Linked DNA regions of Homo sapiens: regions 1, 3 and 4 are each linked to region 2. The links are contacts of gene promoters, found by promoter capture Hi-C in blood cells and fetal thymus (Javierre and others, 2016). All regions are on one chromosome and are shown on one strand. The core of a region is centred on a gene start or on the middle of the fragment in contact, and the rest is flanking DNA. Distances in the headings are between cores, read along the strand shown. Region 1 has its middle 3.8 kb from the start of TTC39B. Region 2 holds the start of SNAPC3 (small nuclear RNA activating complex polypeptide 3). Region 3 has its middle 25 kb from the start of TTC39B. Region 4 overlaps PSIP1 (PC4 and SRSF1 interacting protein 1).

What was found. Contacts are between HindIII fragments. The CHiCAGO score rates a contact against its expected background, and 5 or more counts as called.
Region 1: a fragment that was not itself captured here is called in contact with the fragment with the promoter of SNAPC3 in region 2 in 13 of 17 cell types (activated CD4 T cells, total CD8 T cells, naive CD4 T cells and 10 more); the score reaches 16.6 in activated CD4 T cells.
Region 3: a fragment that was not itself captured here is called in contact with the fragment with the promoter of SNAPC3 in region 2 in 2 of 17 cell types (M1 macrophages and naive B cells); the score reaches 5.4 in M1 macrophages.
Region 4: a fragment that was not itself captured here is called in contact with the fragment with the promoter of SNAPC3 in region 2 in 7 of 17 cell types (total CD8 T cells, non-activated CD4 T cells, total B cells and 4 more); the score reaches 7.6 in total CD8 T cells.

What each region holds. Positions count from the first base shown.
Region 1 is chr9:15,309,620-15,312,319 of GRCh38, reverse strand. No RefSeq gene overlaps it. Among named protein-coding and RNA genes, the nearest start is that of TTC39B, 3.8 kb to the right of the region's middle. The HindIII fragment of the contact is 2,175 bases long and covers 187-2,361 here.
Region 2 is chr9:15,421,529-15,424,228 of GRCh38, reverse strand. It overlaps SNAPC3 (small nuclear RNA activating complex polypeptide 3), which reads right to left and starts at 1,353. Exons shown (of 9, transcript NM_001039697.2): 1 at 1,036-1,353; 2 at 243-320. The coding sequence starts at 1,349. RefSeq lists an enhancer at 877-996 and a silencer at 1,337-1,626. The HindIII fragment of the contact is 2,004 bases long and covers 905-2,700 here.
Region 3 is chr9:15,330,864-15,333,563 of GRCh38, reverse strand. No RefSeq gene overlaps it. Among named protein-coding and RNA genes, the nearest start is that of TTC39B, 25 kb to the right of the region's middle. The HindIII fragment of the contact is 2,334 bases long and covers 284-2,617 here.
Region 4 is chr9:15,494,670-15,497,369 of GRCh38, reverse strand. All of the region lies in intron 3 of PSIP1 (PC4 and SRSF1 interacting protein 1), which reads left to right. Among named protein-coding and RNA genes, the nearest start is that of PSIP1, 15 kb to the left of the region's middle. The HindIII fragment of the contact is 284 bases long and covers 1,270-1,553 here.

The sequences.
Region 1 (2,700 bases), core at 25-2,524, 110 kb after region 2:
GAGCTAGATCTTTTGGATAACTTGCTGCAGCTTCTTCATCAATACTCACTGCCTCACCTTGTACTTTTATGTTTTGGAGATGGCTTCTTTCCTTAAACATCATGAACCAATCTCTGCTAGCTTGCAACTTTTCTTCTACAGCCTTCTCACCTCTCTCAGCCTTCATGGAATTGAAGAGTTAAAGCTTTGCTCTGGATTAGGCTTTGGGTTAAGAGAATGTTGTGGCTGGTTAGATCAGACTACTGCAACTTTCTTAATATCAGCAATAAGGCTGTTTTGCTTTCTTATTATTCATATGTTCACTGGAATAATGGCAAAAGGGCCCATGCCCTAGTTGAGTCATTTTCCTTCAAATAGCCTTCCCGGATGTCAAATGAATTTCATTGGCCAGAATTTAGTTACACTGGCCATTCCTAATTGCAAAGGAGTCCTGAGAAATGTAGTCTTTCAGCTAGGCAGTTGCTCCTATGGATGGAGCTATGGGAGAATGAACAGCAGGTGGCAACAAGCTGCCAATTACCTGTTTATTTTTATTGATATTGCTTTTCTTTTGTTTCTGTCTCTCTCTTTCTCTCTTCTTTCTTTTCTCTATCTCCTCTCTCTTTCTCTCTTTCTTCCTCCCCTTCTCTCTTTCTTTCTTCCTTTCAGATGAGGGTCTTGATATGTTGCCCAGGCTGGACTCAAACTCTTAGACTCAAGTTATCCTCCTCATGCCTTAGCCTCCAGAGTAGCTGGGACTACTGGTGTACCTCCATGCCTGCTTGGTCTGGTTTTTAAATCTTTGACACTCTGCCCTGAGATTGCATATAGCCAAAGTTACTCTTCATGTTGTTGCTCTCTTCTTTGGGTTTTACTTTCTTTGTCTGAAAAAACGATATTAATCAAATTTAAAGAGATATGAAAATCAACAGGAAGGCAATTGGAAAGATTATATATATATATAATATATATTTTGATGTGTGTGTATATATATGTGTGTGCGTGTATATATATATGTGTGTGTGTGTGTGTGTATATATATATATATATATATATATATATATATATATCAAAAAAGTTAACAAACAACTAATAGGTGGGGCAAAATAAATGTTTACCCAGCCCCAAGTGCCTGGAAAAAGGATATTCTGAAGGGAAGATTTCAGCTTCCACTAAATGATGAGGTTTTTCCCCTTAGCATCGCAACCTCTCCCAGGGAGGTGAATTATTCTTCTTAGGTCACTGAGGGACCTCTAAGTGCTTAGCTCTTATGTAACTTTGAAAAACTGAGTAGGCATTAAAGATAATCTTCATGCCTGTTACATTACCCTAGGAAACAATTTACATTTTAGACTACACGTGATTTGCATTCTTTAAATCTCCCTCATTATTACTGGATTATGCTAAAACATTGGCTGCTAGGTCTAAACAATAATGCTTAATGTACTATGAACTTTTTATACTTTCATTCATTCACTCAATAGCCATTTATTAAGTAGTCATTATGTGTTGGGCATTCGGGTTTTTGCTGTAGACACAAAACACAAAGTTCCTTCCCTCATGGAGCTTGTATTATAGTGTGTGTGAGGTGCCATTGTTGAAGGACATACTCATAAACCAGTAAACAAGTGAACGAGAAAGTTCCAGGTAGTGAACAGTGCTATACATACAGCAGGAGGATGTGGTAGAGTGTGACTGAGAGGGAGGGACTGCTTTAGAAGGGGACGTCTTCCTTGAAGAGCTAAGACACGAATGTGAGACAAAGTCACTGACAAACACATGATTTACAATGAGCACTTATTTCATGGATTTGAGCTTCTCCTACCACACAAATCATGAAGATTCAATTTTCACTTAAATCAAGTACCAGCAAAAAACTATCAGCTAAAGGTAACATGTTCAGGAATACTGAAGATTAGATTGTTTACAATATTAGATTTATTTTGAAACACAAACAGCTCCCAGTAGGTGTGGCTTCAAAATGAAATGATTCAGATACCCTCTTGCTTGATCTCTATGCTAATTACTTCTGGGATATGGAATATCTGAGTAATCTCACTTGACTGCTAGAGTATAACATTATCAGCAAACTTGCAAGGGGAATTCTGTGTAAAAACAAATCCATTCTAATTGTTCTTTGAAGAAAAACTTTTATATTTGTGATTCACGATAAAATCACTCTTGTATAGGCAAAGCTGACAGCTGCCCTGAGCAAAGCAAATTTGATTAGACGTTCCAGTGGCTAGAATACATTTATTCATTCAGTGTTTATAATTGAAACATGAATGTTGCTTATCTCCTGCCGTGAATTTAAAACATACGAGACTTCAGGTTTGATCCCTGATATGTAAAAAATTCAACAACAAAAACACCAATCAAGCTTCAATTATAAGTATAGATTTTTGAAAAATTGTACTCGATTTTCATTATAACATAATTCTGTCACTAATTAGAGCGAAGTTTGTTTGGATCTCTTCAAAATTTGAAGAGTTGAAATTCCAAAGGCAGAATAACAGCATATGGGAGAAGAAGCTACCAGTGAGATGGCTTCATGTCAAAAGGATGTGCTATCAATTCAGGAACCAATGAACTTTGAAAAACAGAACCATGCATGAGTAATACAGAGTAGAATCTGGACCTGGATAGGAATTCTAGCCTCAGAAAGTGAAACATAGGAGGAGGTAGGAGTGGGTTGGGGGTCTGGGAAGGAATGGAAACTTT
Region 2 (2,700 bases), core at 104-2,603:
TGCTTATGTATTTACGGGTAAATTATCATGTCTAACTTACTGAATGGGGGATAGCAAAATGAAAAAACACACAGCAGGCATCCCATACACACGGCTAAAGTAAATATGGTCAAATATTAAGAACAGCTGAATTTAAGGGGTGGGTATACAGACAACAATCAATACTGCACTTTCAACTTTTCAAAACATAATGTTGAAAAAATGTTTAAATAAATAGGTCATAAAAACCAAGTCCTCCATACCCCAAAGTCACCAGGTCAGTATTCTCCGGAATGACTTCTGGATCCTCACCGTCCTCAAGGCATTTCAGTTTATCAAGGCTAAAACAAAAAGGAAAAGCAATACTTTAAGGTCGACTCTGCATCTGGTTCACAGCGAGTTAGGGTTGTTTTCCTAAATACATTACTGAATTACGAAGTCAGATAAAATCCAGCAGGCGGCTCAGAGAGGCCAGAACTTAAGACAACGATTTCTGTGATTATATTTTATAATGAAAAGGCCGATGAAGGCAGCCAGTACTGTTAAATGGAGAAAGAGATTAAAGTTATTTTTATATTTTCATCCCCAAATAAGGCACTTTTAAGAAATATTTCAGTAACAGAATACCCGGAAGGTCCCCAAAAGAAACCAGTTAGTCGGGGTTTTAACACTCCTCTGATGAAGTCTCCCGCAGCTTCACCATTACTCAGGTTCCTCCATTGTCAAAGTGTCTGTCAATGGCAGGTACACGTCGCTGTTGCCCTGATTGCTTTTCTTTATTAACAAGCACTCTTAGAATAAGCAAATGGAAAAACTAGTCTTTGATGCAGCTGTCTTGTCCCTTTGCTCCAACTCGTAGAAACTGTGCATTCGGGTCCCAGGACTTCTCCTGGTGTCCCAGGAAGGCTCCAGCGGGTTGAAAGCTTTAAAGGGTAATACTCCTAGCCCAGGTCTAAACCACAGGCCCTTCTCAGGGATGAGTCCCAGAGGAGCGCACGAGCAAGGCTGCACCCTGTTTGACCCCAAGCTGCAAGAGCCCCTTTGCTCCGCACTCACCCGCACACCGCCCTCAGCTCAGCCGCCGCCTCCAGGCTGCAGTCCAGATCCCTGGCCACCGCGGCATCCTCCCGGTCGGAGTCAGCTGCCTGGCTCCCAGGCAGAGCGGATGCCGGCGGCTCCCTCAGCGACAAGTCCCCGGCCCCGCGCAGACGGCCCCGCCACAGCTCCCCAAAGGCGCCCACATGGAAAGCGCGCGTATTTAGCTCGGGAAGCTCATACTCTGGAAAGTTGCAGCCGCCACTGCCGGAGACTGGGTCCTGCCTGCCACCCACCCCGCTACACGTAGGGCCACCTCGGCTTCCTTCAGCCATGTTCGCCCCACTCCTTCCCCTGCAAAAGCCTGCAGATCAAGGCCTCGCAGAGCGTGATGGAAGTTGTAGTTGCTTGGGGCGCCCGGCCGGCGAGCGGCGAGGCGGCGCGGGCAGGGCATCAGAAACTACATTTCCCGGCAGGCCATGGGCAGGCCCGCCCCAGGGCGCGGCACCGCGAGGCTCTACGTGCAGGGCGCAGCATTGTTCTCCGACCCGGGCGGTGCGGGAACCGTTGCGGCTGTCGGTTAACCGCAGCGGGTGGGGCTGGGTTTCTGGTCCCCGAGTTACGTAGCAACTGTCTCTGCCCGGTAGGGCGGCCTCGCCAGGCGCTTAGGCCCCGTTCCTTGCGGCTTTCGGACTAAGGGGTGCAGGGCTTTTTCTTGACTGGGGTTCAAGGACTGCTCTGCTGCCTGATTGCTTTAGAGCCTAAGAAACAAGGAGGGCGAGGGCCGAGACCAGGGACACGACCAGCCCTCCAGATCTGGTTCTTTCACAAGCTCCGCAGAGGCCCCATGTTGGTGTGCGTGTGCAGTAGTGTTTCAGAGCGTCTGTGTATCACACGCTACATGATTAACCCTAATGTATGTTTTTAATGTTTTTAAAAATTACAACAACCTTTCCGGATAGGGCGTATCACCCCGTGTTGCTGTTGAGGAAGGATTTACCTGCGGGGAAAATAGAAGCAGGATCGGAACTCAGTCTGGCTTCAGATGGAGCTCTCTCCATTTCTCAGAGGCCCTGAAGGATACAGCAGGACATACTATTTATTTATTAGACTGTAATCACATGCCATATAATTCACCCATTTGAAGTGTTCAGTGATTTTTGGTATATTCACAGGCTTGGGCAACCATCACCACTATTTGAGAGCATTTTTACCACTCGAAAGAAGAAACTTGTACTTTTTAGCTATCACCCCTGATCCTCCCAACTCCTCCAGCCCTAGCCAACCAAGAACCTACTTTGTCTCTCTAGATTTAACTAATCTGGACATTTAATATAAACGGAATTATATGGTCTTTTGGTGGCTGGCTTAATGTTTACAAGGTTTGTTACAGGTAGTTAGGCATGAGCAGGGCAGGAGAGGGCTCTTCCCTCACCCACTAGGAATGTGGGGTGATGCTTAGGCATTTATCACATTGCCTCTAAAAGTGATAAATTGGCAGCCGGTGCCAGGGAGAGGCCATTTCCTGATGGCCCACACCTGTTGCACTAAAGTGCTCGTTGAATGCAGGTGACAGGGAGAAGCAACTTCCTGGGCATATGCATTAAGAGACAAAATCGGGGAGTATGACCTTTCAGGGGGACTCTATCGGAAAAGGGAAGAAAGCCTCAGATGGGCACGCATACA
Region 3 (2,700 bases), core at 201-2,700, 91 kb after region 2:
TAACAGCACGGTGGACTTTACTGAGGTTTAAAATTCCTGGTCCTTCACTTGCTCAGATTCTGTGGGTGCTGGGACTTACAGAGAGTTAAAGGGTGACCTAAGCGGAAGGGGAAGCCAGATTGTAAGCAGGATGCATCCATATAAAAGCATTTATGATAAATTGCCTAAAGAGATGTCACAAGTAAGGGACCTGAATCTCCTAGCCTCTGGTAGTTGGTAGTTTGTAGTGATTTATTTTCTCACTGCAAATGGTCATTTTAATAACTACTCTATTTCTGAAGCTTCTTGCTGGTACTGGTGCCTCTGCCTGTCCTGGCATCCAGGTCACATTTGTAGATTCTTTTTACCTGTCTCTAGATCCAGCGAGCAGTTGGCATCTGGTATCCAGGAGATGGCACAGTGTGGCAAAAAAAAGCTCTGTACACATTTATACAGCACTTATTGCAGCACAAATTGACACAATCTTTCTGCAGGCAATTTAGCCAGATATAAGTCTTGCAAAATTTATACTTGTGTAAGAGATAGGTCTGGGTTCAGCTTCAAATAACTGAAACCCCAAATAATAATGGTTTAAAAAAGATGGTTATATCACTGTCATGCGAAATTCCAAGAGTGGTCCAGAGTTGTGATGTGTGTGAGCTCCAAAAGGGACTTGGTTTTCTTCCAGTTCAATCATGAACCAAGATGAGAGAACTACTTTCCCGGGAGCAGGATGGAGTGTATCCAATGAAGAATGTGTCCAATGGAGAAACAAAGGCCACATAATACCTCTGTCTAAGGAAGGGACCTGGAAGCTGCCACATAATAGTTTTGCTCATATCTCACTGAGGAGACTTCAATCACATAGCCACTCTTAGCTGCAAGGGACACTGGAAAATGTAGTCTACTCCTGATGGTCATGTGTCTGGCTAAAACTTTTGGAAGAAGGGAGAAAGAATAATAGGGAACAATTAATACTGTTCTGTGCCTTGCCTATTTTACTTTATATATCTTGGCAATGATTCAATGTTAGTACTTAAGGAGAATCCTTATTTTTATTATTTTTTAATTTTAATTTTTTTTTTTTTTTGAGATGGAGTCTCGCTCTGTCCCCCAGGCTGGAGTGCAGTGGTGCCATCTTGGCTCTCTGCAATCTCCGCCTCCTGGGTTCAAGCGATTCTCATGCCTCAGCCTCCCGAGTAGCTGGGACTACAGGCATGCACCACCATGCCTGGCTAATTTTTTTTTGTATTTTTTGTAGAGACGGTGGTCTCACTATGTTGCTCAGGCTGGTCGCGAACTCCAGAGCTCAGGCGATTTGCCCACCTCAGCCTCCCAAAGTGTTGGGATTATGGGCGTGAGCCACTGCACCTGGCATTTTTATTTTTATTTTTTAAGGCTGAATAATAATACTCCATTGTTTTATAGTATCAACAATTCTTTTATTTTTTTTTGAGATGTGGTCTCATGCTGTCACCCAGGTTGGAGTGCAGTGGCTGATCTCGGCTCACCACAACCTCCACCTCCCAGGCTCAAGCGAGCCTCCCACCTCAGCCTCTCAAGTAGCTGGGATTACAGGCATGCACCACCATGCCCAGCTAATTTTTGTACTTTGTTTGTAGAGATGGGGTTTCACCATGTTGCCCAGGCTGGTCTTGAATTCCTGAACTCAAGCCATCCATCAGTCTTGGCTTCCCAAAGTGCTGGGATTACAGGCACAAACTACCACACCTGGCCACCAATCCCTCACTGATGGATGGTTTCAGTAGTTCCCAAATTTGCGTTGTTAAAAATATCACTGCAATGAGTAACCTTGCACATAGGTAGTTTCACATATATGTGAGTATATCTGTAGGATAAGTTCCCAGATGTGGAATTGCAGGAAATTTGTAATTCTGGTTGATTATTGCTAAATTGCCCTCATTAGAATTGTTGCAATGAAAAGCTCAGTATCGGTCGGGCAGAGTGGCTCACACCTGTAATCCCAGCACTTGGGGAGGCTGAGATGGGAGGATTGCTTGAGTCTAGGGGTTCAAGACTGGTGTGGGCAAGACCCCATCTCTAGAAAAAATTTAAAAACTTAGCCAGGTGTAATGGCGCATGTCTGTGGTCCCAGCTATATGGGAGGCTGAGGTGGGACGATCACTTTAGCCCAGGAGATTGAGGCTGCACTGAGCTGTGTTCATGCCACTGCACTCCAGTCTGGTTGACAGAGTGAGACCCTGTCTCAAAAACAACAACAACAACAACAACAACAACTCAATATCAACAATAAGCCTTTCCAACATAGCATTTTATGAAACTTTTAAATCTTTCCCTGTCTCGTAGGTAATATGCAATTTTACAAATGAAAAATAGTGCTATGATTAAAAACTTAAGAGTAGCAGAATATGCAAACCCAAAATATGCCACTTTGGCATGAAGATTATTTTGAGCTGAAGGCAACTGAGAGGAAGCAGATACAAGAAAAGTTCTCTGCCCTTCCTTTACTTACCTAAAAGCAAGAAGTGAATTTGTAAAGGTGTCCTCTTGTCCCAGGAAGGATAAAAGGTACAAACAATTTTAAACTCTTGTTACTTTTTGCTACAGTGTTTTCCAGAAAGATGTGCTAATTTTCTCATTCCCATCTAACAAAGCTTAAAAAGAGATTAAATAGATTGTAAAGAGGTAAGGTGCAGTAGGTAGGAAGATAGCTTTTAACACACCGGAGTTTGAGTTGGA
Region 4 (2,700 bases), core at 162-2,661, 73 kb before region 2:
CCTGAGTGACAGAGCAAGACTCTGTCTCAAAAAAAAAAAAAAAAGGAATCATAGAACGTGTGGTCTTCAGTGGCTGGCTTTTCTCACTTAGGATGATGTTTTTCAAGATTCATCCATGCTCTAGCCTGGATGTGATAGTACATTACTACTCTACTTTTTATTGTCACATATTCCATTATATTGATTTACCATATTTATTCATCACTTGATAGACATTTGAGTTATTTTTACTTTTGGCTTTTATGAATAATGCTGTGAACATTTGTGTCCAAGTTTTTTTGTGAACATAAGTTTTCATTTCTCTAGGAGAAAATTCCTGGGTCAGATGTAATTTCACGTTTAACGTTTTGAGAAAACTCTCAGACTTGCCAAATCAGCTGCACCGTTTAACATTCCCACCAGCAATTGTAGGAGGGTTCCAATTTCTCCACATCCTTGCCAACACTTGTTATTATTTGTTATTTTTTGGCCGTCTGAGTGGGAGTGACGGTAGTATATTGTGATTTTTGATTTACATTTCCTGGATAACTTAATGATGTTGAATTATGTGAACTAAAAAAAAGTGTGCGAATTTAAAAATCTTCTGTACTTAACATGAATTTACATTTGTAAAAGTCTTTTCAGTTGGAAGAACATAGTTATTTAATTTTTGGTATATTAAGATACGTGAATTTATGTATGACATCAGTTGAACCATTATGGTTAATAATGAAAGGTACAACTTGTAAATCTGAATCTGGGAGTAGGAGCAAGGGGTGAATTTTTTTAAAAACCTACTTAGCAAAGTTAAGAATAAAAAACAATTGTAGTGAAAAGGTACACGTAAAATGAGGTGGTGTGAATAAAACTAAATGTAAACATTACATTTTATGAATGAATATAGTTCTGTTAAGACTTTCTGTTTTAATAAACCACTTTGCTATGTCTTATTTTGTGAGACAAAGCTCAAACAAAACAAGAGCAAGCAATGATACAATGTCACAAAGAAAGCAGGAATGGCAATACTGCTGTCTGTTAAAAGTGGAATTTAAACTCAAAGCTTGAAGAGAGAAGGGTATATATAGGCAGTCCTTAGCTTTACATAGTTCCTGTAGGCACAAATTTCAATTGCCATGACTTAGCTAAGTAACAGTCCACTAACAACATGGTTAAAATTTCACCTACCCTGCCATATTAACTAATTGTATAAACTACAACATTTGCTGCTAGTCTTTCAACCTACAAATTAAGATGTAAATGACAGGTGCATATAATGTCACTTTTAAAGCTTCTTGGTGATTGGTCACCATGCATTGGTTTCTCAAAATCATGCACAGTCGGATGTATAGTTGGCCTCTGTCTCCTAATGATGTCCCCATGTGACAGTTTACCAAAATAAACAAGGAAATTGGTCAACAAAGATGATAGTGCAGCAAAAATCCTAATGCTAGATGGGAAATTTGAATTTAACATAAATGGAATAATAGAATAAATAGCTTACCTTGTGAATATAGATGGTTTGCAGTTGGAGAGACACTAATTGTCCAGCCAGAGAAACTTAGTGAAGGCAAGCTTATCAACATAAATGAAAAAGGTAGTTGTAATGGAAAATATGAAGATATCCTATTAATAGAAGTGATACCAACAAAAAACATTGAGGATATTTCACATCATTGAAAGCATGAAGGATAAAATATTGGAATGTGATCTAAACTTAGGAGTATGACAGTTTGCCAAGGCATAGAAGATAGACGCATTCCATATCATAATAAATATCACTAGAAGAAGGCAAGCACTGTTCAAACTATTCTTGATAGATTTTTTTTAATACAAAGAAATGATACACTTTAATATCAGTGTTCCTAATGTTTTAAGTTACAGCATACTAAGTTGGTATTGGTTTTACTATTTCATTTCCTTATGCATTTACATAACCGTCAGTAATAGACTACTTAATATTCTGACAAATTTTAAAGGTCACAGAACAATCGTAACTTTTCCCATTGATTATTAAGATTGCCTTGCATGGTCCTTTTTAAGAACTGCTTTTTTTGAGGTTAAGAAAAATGATTCATGTAAAAAAATTTATCTTTTATACAGTAACTTTGTGGTAGATCAGTCTTCTGTGGCTTTTAGACTTAGAGCCATATCTTTAAAAAAAAATAAATATTTGAGGTTTTAAAACATTTTCCTGTAATTATTTTTGAGGTCTTTTCCTACTCCTGAAGTTCCTGGTCACCCCAATTTTGAGCCCTTTGGGGATTTTAAATTGTAAATGAGGGTGCTTAAGATTCAACTTCTTTAGTTGTCTTTTTAGCTTCCAAATTTTATTTTTGCCTTGTTTGGTTTTAAGAGTTTATACTTTTAAAATAATCTCTTTACTGTTGTTTTTCTGGTTTTTCAGGAGGGAGAATTTGTGTTGAATTGGGTTTGTTCTGACCAGAAATACGTTTTCATGGAGGTTTAACTCAAGTCATTTACTTGGAATTTGAAACCTGTTACATAAGAGGAATGTTATACTGTTAGAGCTAAATGTGTTAATTTTTCTAATTTGAGATTATGGACAGGAATTAATGATGTCTAGTAAAATCTTCAGTTTTTGATGGAATGAGATGATTTCAGTTTAACTCCAAAGTAAATTTGGTAAATTATTGGTTTGCCTTAATCCTAGCATAATAATATTACTTTGAAAATGGGATGTGCAGTTAAAATACATGGATA